2 separate regions of the Homo sapiens genome follow, and region 2 is linked to region 1. The links are contacts of gene promoters, found by promoter capture Hi-C in human tissues and cell types (Jung and others, 2019). All regions are on one chromosome and are shown on one strand. Each heading gives the region's core, a stretch centred on a gene start or on the middle of the fragment in contact. The rest is flanking DNA. Distances are from core to core; before and after follow the strand shown.

What was found. Contacts are between HindIII fragments. The study calls those that stand out against the background at their distance.
Region 2: a fragment that was not itself captured here is called in contact with the fragment with the promoter of KCNT2 in region 1 in 2 of the 25 tissues and cell types used here (neural progenitor cells and stomach).

What each region holds. Positions count from the first base shown.
Region 1 is chr1:196,606,468-196,611,757 of GRCh38, reverse strand. KCNT2 (potassium sodium-activated channel subfamily T member 2) reads left to right here and starts at 3,318. Exons shown (of 28, transcript NM_198503.5): 1 at 3,318-3,543. The coding sequence starts at 3,449. RefSeq lists an enhancer at 2,467-2,983. The HindIII fragment of the contact is 13,382 bases long and covers 1-5,290 here.
Region 2 is chr1:196,489,565-196,494,854 of GRCh38, reverse strand. KCNT2 (potassium sodium-activated channel subfamily T member 2) reads left to right here. Exons shown (of 28, transcript NM_198503.5): 2 at 2,514-2,593; 3 at 4,918-5,017. Among named protein-coding and RNA genes, the nearest start is that of MIR4735, 90 kb to the left of the region's middle. The HindIII fragment of the contact is 9,283 bases long and covers 1-5,290 here.

The DNA.
Region 1 (5,290 bases), core at 2,069-4,568:
AAATCTCTAGGGCGGGGCAAAATGCCGCCAGTCTTTTTGCTAAAACATAACAAGAGTCACCTTTACTCCAGTTCCCAACAAGTTCCTCATCTCCATCTGAGACCACCTCAGCTTGGACTTGATTGTTCATGTCATTATCAGCAATTCTGTCAAAGCCATTTAACAAGTCTCTAGGAGATTCCAAACTTTTCCACATTTTCCTCTCTTTTTCTGAGCTCTCCAAAGTGTTCCAATCTCTGACTGATACCCAGTTCCAAAGTCGCTTCCATATTTTTGGGTATCTTTTCAGCAATGCCCACTCTACTGGTACCAATTTACTGTATTTGTCTATTTTCACGCTGCTGATAAAGACATGCCCGAGACTGGGAAGAAAAAGAGGTTTAACTGGACTTACAGTTGTTCCACATGGCTGAGGAGGCCTCAGAATCATGATGAGAGGCTAAAGGTCCTTCTTACATGGCGGTGGCAAGAGAAAATGAGGAGCATGCAAAAGCGGCAACCCTTGATAAAACTATCAGATCCCACGAGACTTATTCACTATCATGAGAACAGTACGGCGTATATTACTGCCTTGATTCAAATTGTCTCCCACCGGGTCCCTCCTGCAACCCATGGGAATTATAGGAGTACAATTCAAGATGAGATTTGGGTGGGAACACAGAGCCAAACCATATCAATAGCATTTCCTATAATACATTATTCTTCTAATTTTCTTAAGTTTATAGTAAAAAAAATTCACTTGGACAATTTCAAGACACACCAGAGAATCAAAATATCATCAATGTGGTAGTTTCCAATTGGTTGCCCTGAGCACATTACTTTGTATAGTTTGTATCCATAATGGCACACAGTATTAGCTGAGTAGGTTTTTTCTTATTTATTTATTTTTAATGTACTATTTGTTCTCTCCTAAACTTTTATCTGAGTATTTGGAAGCCAAATGACTAAGATTTTCACAAAAGGTAAAATAGAGGCACATAGCTTTCTTTTAAGTAAAATGTTACTTTACCCTCTAACCTCCAGCATCCCAGGACTAACAATCGATTGCTATTTTTTTTCTTTTTTCAGTGTCTTGATTTTTAGTCTGTTAATGATATGTAAATATTTCAGATTTTCTGTCATCCAAATAATACAGTTAGACTGTAACTATAAATATTAACTTGGAACATTACAAATAAAATTAATAGAATCATTTTAATAGGAGATGATAAGGTCTAAAATATAAACCAGATCTCTCTCTCTATCTCTATCTGTATAAACTAATAATGTAGCAATATTACTTTCTTATTTAGCAAAGTAATTACAAAAGTTCGTGCTAAATTATGATTTCATAAACAAACACATACCACAGGAGTGCAAGCATGGATGGAAAAAAACATGCTTAATTTCCTAGATTTAATAGCTTTTAATGCAACTCCACACCTATTTGTTGAAATGTGGCTATTTTGAAGGTCCCGTGCTAGAGGCAGCTAAGCCACAGGGAGAGGGGAAGAGTTGAAAGAAAAACGCACAGATAATCGTATAGCGGGTCAGGTTATAGTAAGCATTCCAGGCAAAATACTCACATGGGTTATGAAGGGTTCAAACAAAGGGGTTCAAAGGAAGAAGACATCATAAGAAGCTGGAAAAACCAAGAAATCTAATGGAGGATATGTAATTTGAGATGGGTCTGGAAGGATGAGTAGGATTTTGAAGACAGAGACAAACAGTATGACTTTTATTTCAACTGCTATTCTTCAGGTTTCAGTAGTCATTGTATTTCATTTGATGTTACAAGTTTTGGTAATTTCTTCCTTCATTTCTAGCTTCTTAAATAAACCCTCTGCTACATGACCTCTACTGAGCATTAATCATGCCAAATTAATCACTATTTTCTGGATAAGCCAAATATTCTAAAAAATCCCTATGCCTCTACTCATACTATTCTCTCTGCTTGCTTCACCTTTGCTCTTTTCCCTAAAGTAGGCTGCGAACGAATATAGAAGGCTTGGTTCATTTTCAATGTCTTCCTTGACCCCCACCTCGAAGAAGTATGTGTACCTCACAGGTATTTCCAAATCCCTCTGTATGTTCTTTGATTATTGTCTCTCACATCGTATCCATTTATCAAGGAACAAGCTTGTTCCTCCACACAGAGCGGTTCTTAAGTAAGGGCAGGAGAAGCCATATGGTTATCCTCCGGCCCAGGCTGTCAGGTGGTTGGTATTCGGTCTGTATATACTCTGATGCAATCAGTTTTTGAAGGAAAGAACGGTAAGCGCAAATAGAACCATAGCTTGTGTAGCAGGGTTCATGTAAGCAGTGGTTCTTACTGAAAAACAGACCCTGTTCTCTCGGGCTCACTTCTTCCTCCGTGTGAACCACTAATAGGAGGGGACCGAAGGCTGAGGCCAGGCCACCTGGAAGCCCACAACGCTGCTAGTAGCAGCGACAGCAGTAACAGCAACTCACCACTGTAAAATCCTCAGTGCGTTTCCATGTGCTTTCCCTGTCATCTAAATGCTTCTCTTCAGCGGCCTAAGGTGGCCCTTCTTTTTCCCCGAGTTCAGGGAAACACCTCCCTTCTTTCAGAATGTGAGAAAAAAATGGGATTTTCCTGGGGCTGAGAGTGGGGATTCCCTTTCCAGAAACGTGCAATTTTTTCATCCCGCCCACCTGGACTGAAGGCAATCAAAGCGAGGGAGCTCGTGGCATAGTGGAACACTCCAAGCACCCTGGCCCCCCTCCTCCCAGAGAAGGGTCTGGAGCCCCGCAATCCGCTAATTAGCTCGCCCCCATTGGTTGTCCCCAAGGCACCCCCGTGCCGTCACTGTGCTATGCTAATGAGGGGGAGTCTCATTGGCTGGGCCTCCAGCTCCATCTCCACAGGGAGATTGCGGGGAGAGCCGGGTTGGCCGCGTCTGGGGCCGAAACCCACCGCCCCCGATTCCCGCCAGCTCAGGGCTGTGCCGGATGCAAGCCCGCCCGAGGGAACAGTAGCCGGGAGGCTGCCCTCTGGGAGGATCTGGCAACTGCCTTTAAGGAAAGTGCTTCACCATCAAGCGGCGCTCACTCCCACCCCTCTCCCCTCTTTCTAGGCACCGCGCGTCTTTTTCGGCGAAGTAACTTTTTATACCCGCCTCCCCCTAGTCCTGGGGACCAGAGGCGGTGCCGAGCCTGGGGGCGGTTCCTTGGCAGCGTTGATTCTTGTCAGAGCCAGACTTTTGCTCCTGGGTTGGGTTTGCATCATCCCCATTACACCCTCGGGAAAGAGGAGCCAGCCCCCTTTCAAGCCTTAGCTTCCGGCTCCAAGCGGACCCCCTCCCCCTCCCTGTCCCCTTCCCCTTCTCCCATCCCTCTCTCGGCCACAGCGTCTTGTTAGTCCTCTCCCTGTACTCCGCAATATTTTCTTTCTTTCTCCCTCCTCTCCTCCATTTGTTGTTTGATGTTTCCCACTCTTTGAGGAAGGATGGTTGATTTGGAGAGCGAAGTGCCCCCTCTGCCTCCCAGGTACAGGTTTCGAGATTTGCTGCTAGGGGACCAAGGATGGCAAAACGACGACAGGTGAGTGGTGTGGTGGAGGATTGTTCTGTAAATATTGCTGAAAAAGAGACGGAAATGGGAGGGCCGAAGTGGGGAAAGGAGGGAGAAAAGGAAAACGGAGCCAGAGAGGGAGACTAGGCTGGGGGAGGGAGTAAAAGAGACTCTGATTTGTCTCTCCATTTTGACTCTATATAACTGTTGCTATAGATAAGGAACTCTTTTTCTTTACACTTTTCTTATTCTTGCAAGGTATTTATTGCATTCATTTGGTGCTTATTCTTTTGTCTATCTGTGCTTTTCTAGGATGTGTATAAGGCTGGTATCAGAGGTACAATACACCCAAATGGTATGCAATATCATTTCCAGAAAATTTGCATTTTTTCCTTAGGTGTGGTTAATCAAACTCAAAATTGCATGCAAGTTGTTTGAAAAAGCACATTAGAAACTTAAAATCTCCTGAGTCTATTTACCTCCTCCTTGTCTGTGTTGTCTTGAGTAGGTATCTACTTGGCACTGGAAATTTTATGCTGTTTAAACATTTTGGAGTTTTAAGTAGACAATTGGTTTAAATATGTAACAGGTAGTTAGTGAAAATGACAACCTTTTTAATACAATATACTCACTTTGAACAGGTGACTCTGACCATTATGAATAATGATGTTTGTATAACATGATACAACCTTTTCATAACTAGTATATTTTTTTAACTGAAACAGAATATATGTCTCAAAATTAAAATTAAGTTTCAAAACTAGAATATTTATTGTTAGCAAAATATTGTTCATGTGTTTTATTTATAGCATTACTGCTTTGCACAAACTTCTGAAATTCCTCTGTCTATTTCTGTCTCAAGCACATTTTGTATTTCAGCGAATTTAGTATTTTCTGGAATAGTCATCCCATATATCACATGCCACATTTCTTTGTTTTAAAATAATACATGTATACTAACTAGGTTCTCAACTCAATTGAAATGTTTCATTGAAGTTTAGTTTAGTATTGATGTGCTATTTTAGTTATATAAAAGATCCATTATTGGTCCAATCCAAAATCCCCTCCTCATTCACCACTGACCAATACACTCTATTTCTTTTCTTCACCTTTTCAGCTCCCAATACCAACTCCTGTCTCTACACACTGAGGATTTTATCTTGAGCATCAATTATGGGCATCTTGTTTGGTCTCATATTAGTAATTTGAAAGGAGATGGATGTTTTGTAGAGGATATTTTGGTTCAATCTCTTTTTTAGGCAAAACCACACATATTGGCTAAAAATTTAAAGAAGTAATACCAATTTCTCAGTATTCTTGTAAAGTGTTTGGGTAAACTGAAGATAAAGAAAATAATTTTTAAGTGAATTTGTAATACAAATTGACATTTAGATAAACTGCATTAGCCTGGTTAAATGGCTTAGTAAGTGTAGCATGGTGTTCCTAGTGACTGAATGTATATTTAGTTCAGGACCTCAGGATCATTATATAGAATAGAAATCCTCTTTGTAGAAAGTGTGAGATAGATTAAACACATAAAGCACATACTTTGGTTATAGTGATGGTATTGTTGTTTGTTTGTTTTAAATATCATATCCAATATGTTAATTTTCATGTGGTTGCCCTCATTTTTCTAAGGATGCTGCAGAAATATTTTAGTAATTAAGAATTTTGGTTAGTTGAACACTGCCTAAATGGATCAGTGCCATATTAAAAAAGTTTTGCAGAATGGTTAAAATTTTATGTTCTATTAAAAGGTTATGCTAGCCCAACTTTA
Region 2 (5,290 bases), core at 856-3,355, 120 kb after region 1:
AATATTCTATTTAATAGAGAATCACATTATGTGTCATTCCATTTTAATAATGTTGGTAACTGAAATATTTAAAGACAACGGTGACTCCTAACTCTTCATAATTACGAATTCTTTCTAGTTTCGCCTACCTTTTCCATATGTGGTATGTTTTCCAGATTCCTCATTATTTTTGTTAAGGCTTTAGATGATCTCATTTCAGTTAAAAAATGCTCCTCTGCGCCTGTAATCCCGGCACTTTGGGAGGCTGAGGTGGGCGGATCACGAGGTCAGGAAATTGAGACCATCCTGACTAACACGGCATGGTGGCTGGCGCCTGTAGTCCCGGCTACTGGAGAGGCTGAGGAGAAGAATGGCGTGAACCCGGGAGGTGGAGCTTGCAGTGAGCTGAGATCGCGCCACTGCACTCCAGCCTGGGCGACAGAGCCAGACTCCGTCACCAAAAAACAACAAAAAAAGGCTCCTCTGTTACATACCCAGTACTGAACTCCAATATTATCTGAAAAATGGACTCATTCTTATAAATTTGGTAATTCTAGGAAGCAAATCTGCATGGCCTTTGCTGAATTATTTGTGTAATAGCCGTATTGTCCTCTCAAATTTGTTTATGTAGCCATAACAAATTTCAACTAGTTTAGCTTTATCTCACTATTTACAGTTACTATATTTAAAATGAACTGACTTTTCATTTGATAAACAAGGGAAACACGTCCAATAATGCATTTCCAAGACACCGATGAAGTTTTGTTTCTGTATGTGTGTGCATGGACTTTTGTAGTATGTATATGTACGTAGATGTGTAGGGTGTGCACATGTGCATGGGCATACAGATGGAAATGTTCTGCTAAAAGATATCATTGCCATTTTAGTGGCTTCTTTAGAACTTCTAGAGAACTTTTCCAACTTCTAGTCTGGAGAAGGTATTAACTAAAGAGAATCTTGCTTACTTTAAAACAATTTCATTTAATATATAAGGTGAAGAAAAAACAAAGTAAGTCAGAATATGATAACGAGGAAATAAAAATAGAAATATATTCTTTAGAGAGAAGATATAAAAGAACATTCAAGTATTTTAGAAGATACAACACATACAGCTTGATTCGTAATTAATTTTAAAAATGCCCTGTTGAGGGTAACATCACACAATGGGGCCTGGGGAAGGGATAGCATTAGGAGAAATACCTAATGTAGATGACAGATTGATGGATGCAGCAAACCATACACATGGCATGTGTATACCCATGTAACAAACCTGCACGTTCTGCACATGTATCTCAGAACTTAAAGTATAATAAAATTAAAAAAAATGCCCTGTTGCTTTTGTGACACAATAAACTGCTTTAAAACTATTCATGGTTTTCCTTGAATAAACAGGGTAGTAGAGGGTTTATGAGATAATATAGTAGTGAACTATTTCTCAAATGCATGAGCAGCTTTGTAATGTCAGTTGTTTTTTTTTTCTCCTAGTTTTCTCTAAGGTATCTACTCTTGCAAAAAAAACAAAACCAAAAATCTCCCCCCCAAAAAAAAGACCCCCAAACCTTATCTGGCTTACATGAATTACATTTTCAAAATGTTACCATATTAGGAAAAATGAAATTAAATATTTGTTTTTGCGTAAACATTAAAATCCATTCTTAGCTGTTTTTGAAATTCTAACTCATAATGAATATATTTGAGACTGATTAAGGAAATTGAGTATTATTTACAAGTTACCTTGCACTGAACAAGATTTCTCTTTTCACTTAGTATTTTGAAAATATTAATTGTGCCTTATCAAAGGGAGACTGTTTGCTAGAATTTAGAGTATTTATTAAAGTACTGCTATTATTTTAGACTGTTGATATTATTGTATAGTGGATCAAATATACAATATGTAGTCTATTAATTGAGTTGTTTGCTTTATAATCTATCTGTGGTAACCTTAACAGTTCTATTTGCCACTGCTACTTCTTGGTTGATCCATAAGTAGGAAGGTAAAGTGTTACAGAGTGTGGTGTCCTAAATAGGCTATAGGTGTAGTGAAGAATTGATTATTAGGCCCTGCCCTTTAAAATTCTGAATAAGTAGATCTGGCACGGTGGTGCCCAGACTGAATTTTTCAAACGTCAGTTAATTCTTACAGCAGGGAAAAAAATGGGGAAAGCACTGATTCAAACCCATTTCAAACACACATATTAAAGACTTTTGCATTATTGCTGTTTTGAATAATCCATGCCACTCATTATATTCATTAATACAAATAATTGAATTGACTATGTATAATATTTAAAATGATTCTATCTTTAAAAGTAGAAAATAATTGCTTCTCTCTAAATCAGTACTTTACTCAGTTCTCATTTTCCATGGCAGGGAATTTACTAAAATACATAATGCATTAAATCAAATAATTTATTTCAAAAATGTATTATTCTTTAAGTTAGAGAACTACAGATCAATTTATATTTGTTGATCTTCATGAAAATAAAGATATGGTTGCTTGCATACATTTACATGTTTTTATTTTCTGTTTGCAGGGTACAAGTTGAATTCTATATGAATGAAAATACATTTAAAGAAAGACTAAAATTATTTTTCATAAAAAACCAGAGATCAAGTAAGTTATTCATTTCATTCCCCTCTGTTCGTACATATATTTACTTCAAAATATTTCAACTGTGTGATCTTTTGCAAAATACTTTTTAGATAGAGGAATAAAATTGGTTATTTTTTCCAGCAGGTGGTAGAGGAATAAAATTGGTTATTTTTTCCAGCAGGTGGTAACATTTTAGAAAAGTATAGGCACTACATATAGTGATATTAATGCTTCTTGAACATCTTCAATTCTCCAAATTCCATGTTAATAAGTAGACTTCTGAGTGGACTATCTGGATTAGTATAAACATTGAGGAAAATAATTTAAATGAGGGTCCTTCCATTTTAACTCTAAATATCGTATTTTCAAAAAGCTCTGACAGACCACAATGGGAAACAATTGTCTGATTTAGGGAAGGGAACGTTTAATATTTCCTAATCATTCCAAATAATAAGAAACATCTAGGTTGCACTGAAATATACAGATTCCTATCTTTCTTAGCCTAGAGATTTTGAGCCAGGAAGTGTAGGGTAGATCTCAGAGTTTAACATCCCAGTGATTCCTATCATCAGACAAATGTAAGAAAGTAACAAAGTAGAACTTCAAGAATACAAAATTGGCATAGTAACTGTCCTCCTGAGCCTATTCAAGGTTAGGAGTGCCGCTGATGCTTGTTGCTTCCCACAATGCCATATATGTTTAAAAAGCCATATGTAATAAACCAATATGCAATTTTTTTTATGGTCATTGCTTACAATGTCACAGGGAATGGAGAGGCCTGCATTAGTTGGTGTAGACATTAAGCTCTGTGAATTTTAACCTCCAAATCCTCTTGTCAAAATTAAGTTGTGCCTCTGTAGGTAGGATTCAAAGAGAGAAGCTTGACTTGTGGGAAGTTGTCCAAATACTGATGATATGGAATATTTCAATATTTAAGTCATACTGCTCAGATAGTCTTAATGACAGGCTGGCCTCAAGGTTAAGACTGTTAGCAACTAATGTTTTTCTAACATGGTTGTTCAGAATATCCAAGGAAGCCCCATAAATAGATATTACCTAAAGGGGTCACATCATCTGAATAGTTTCCCTTATTTCAGTACTAACAGTCCTATCTTTCCAGGCCAAAAAAGGTGGATGCATTGTTTGAATACTTCACCCATAGTCAGCTGCAACTAAGCAGTTATTTGAGGAGGCCCATTTCTATAAAACCAGCATAATTTCTTTAATAATTTGAAAGATTTTTTAAGGAAGTGAACCCATAAAATGTATTCAGCATTTTAATTGGAAAACCTTGGAAAAATTTCACAAATGATAAGCATCGACCTTTTTACTGGTAAGAACTGTTACCACAAGTACACTCACAACAGCAGAGTAGGACAAAAAAAGTGACATTTCATTTCTAGATTTTATTAAGTAATAATTATAGGAAGGCCTTTATCAAAATTTTATTCATAATGCATGAATCAGATATCGTAAAGTAATTACAGGAAAGATAATGCTCATATTAATCAGACTTTATGCATATTGTGCTTAATCTTAAATACTCTTCATCATCATTGAATATTACAGGCTGCATAATTGTGACCCACACAGTTTAGAAGATACATACATGGCAGTTTTAATTCCCACAAAAGTTTAAGATTCCATGGGTATTTTAAATAGTTAAAAATAGAATTTAATTTATTGAACTTTAAACGTATGTGTGTGTATGTGAGAGAAATGGAGAGATTGATCGTGTGTGTGTTTCTCAGTGTATGCTATTAAGATTTCTCTATACTTATATAATATATATTATTATATAATGAATAAATAATATATATAATTATATAATTGGAATGTATTATAATTATATAGTTAATATTAAATATACAACATAGAACTATACAAATATAATTAATTTCTTTATAATCAAATCTACAAGATTCTGTGAAGGTATAAGTTTTATAACTTGGCTTGTGAATTTGTAAGCAGCTAGATTTTCTAGCCAAAGTTTATCCCAAAATTTATGGATGTATAAAATGCTTAAACATATAAACATACTTTAATCAACCTCGATTGGACACAAATTTTGTGGCTTCTGAATGTTCAAATCTAGATTTAGTCTTTTTATAAAATATGCACTCTCATTTGCAGTTCAAGTATTCTGTCAAACTCACTTTTTGTTTCAATATTCAGGTAATTAAAATTCAGCCACCAAGAACTTCAGAGAGTTTAGACAATTATAGTAGTGCAGCTTCTAAATACAATTTAAGTGCTGTATTTAAATTTGATATTTTTGACAATTCTTTTTAGTCTTTTGTGAACTAAGTTCAGATGAAAATCAAACTTTTATCATTTGTTTAAAGGTCTAAGGATACGCCTGTTCAATTTTTCTCTCAAATTACTAAGCTGCTTATTATACATAATCCGAGTACTACTAGAAAACCCTTCACAAGGAAATGAATGGTAAGGTACCTTTTTCTGACCTTCAACAATATTATTTTGATTATTTTGAGTTGTATCACATTTTAAATTTAAAGCATGTTGTGTAGAGCTTAATTTTTAAGGGTATTTTAGGTGTTTGTCACAAATAAAATTGATCGATTTACAGGCACTACATAATTCTTGTAGGTTCTTTGTAAGTATCTTTTATTATTTTTCTGTTTGTCTGATGCTAATATTGGACTGTTAGGCATAAAATTTTATTGCTAGCCAAAGTGCATTAAGTAGTTTTTGTTT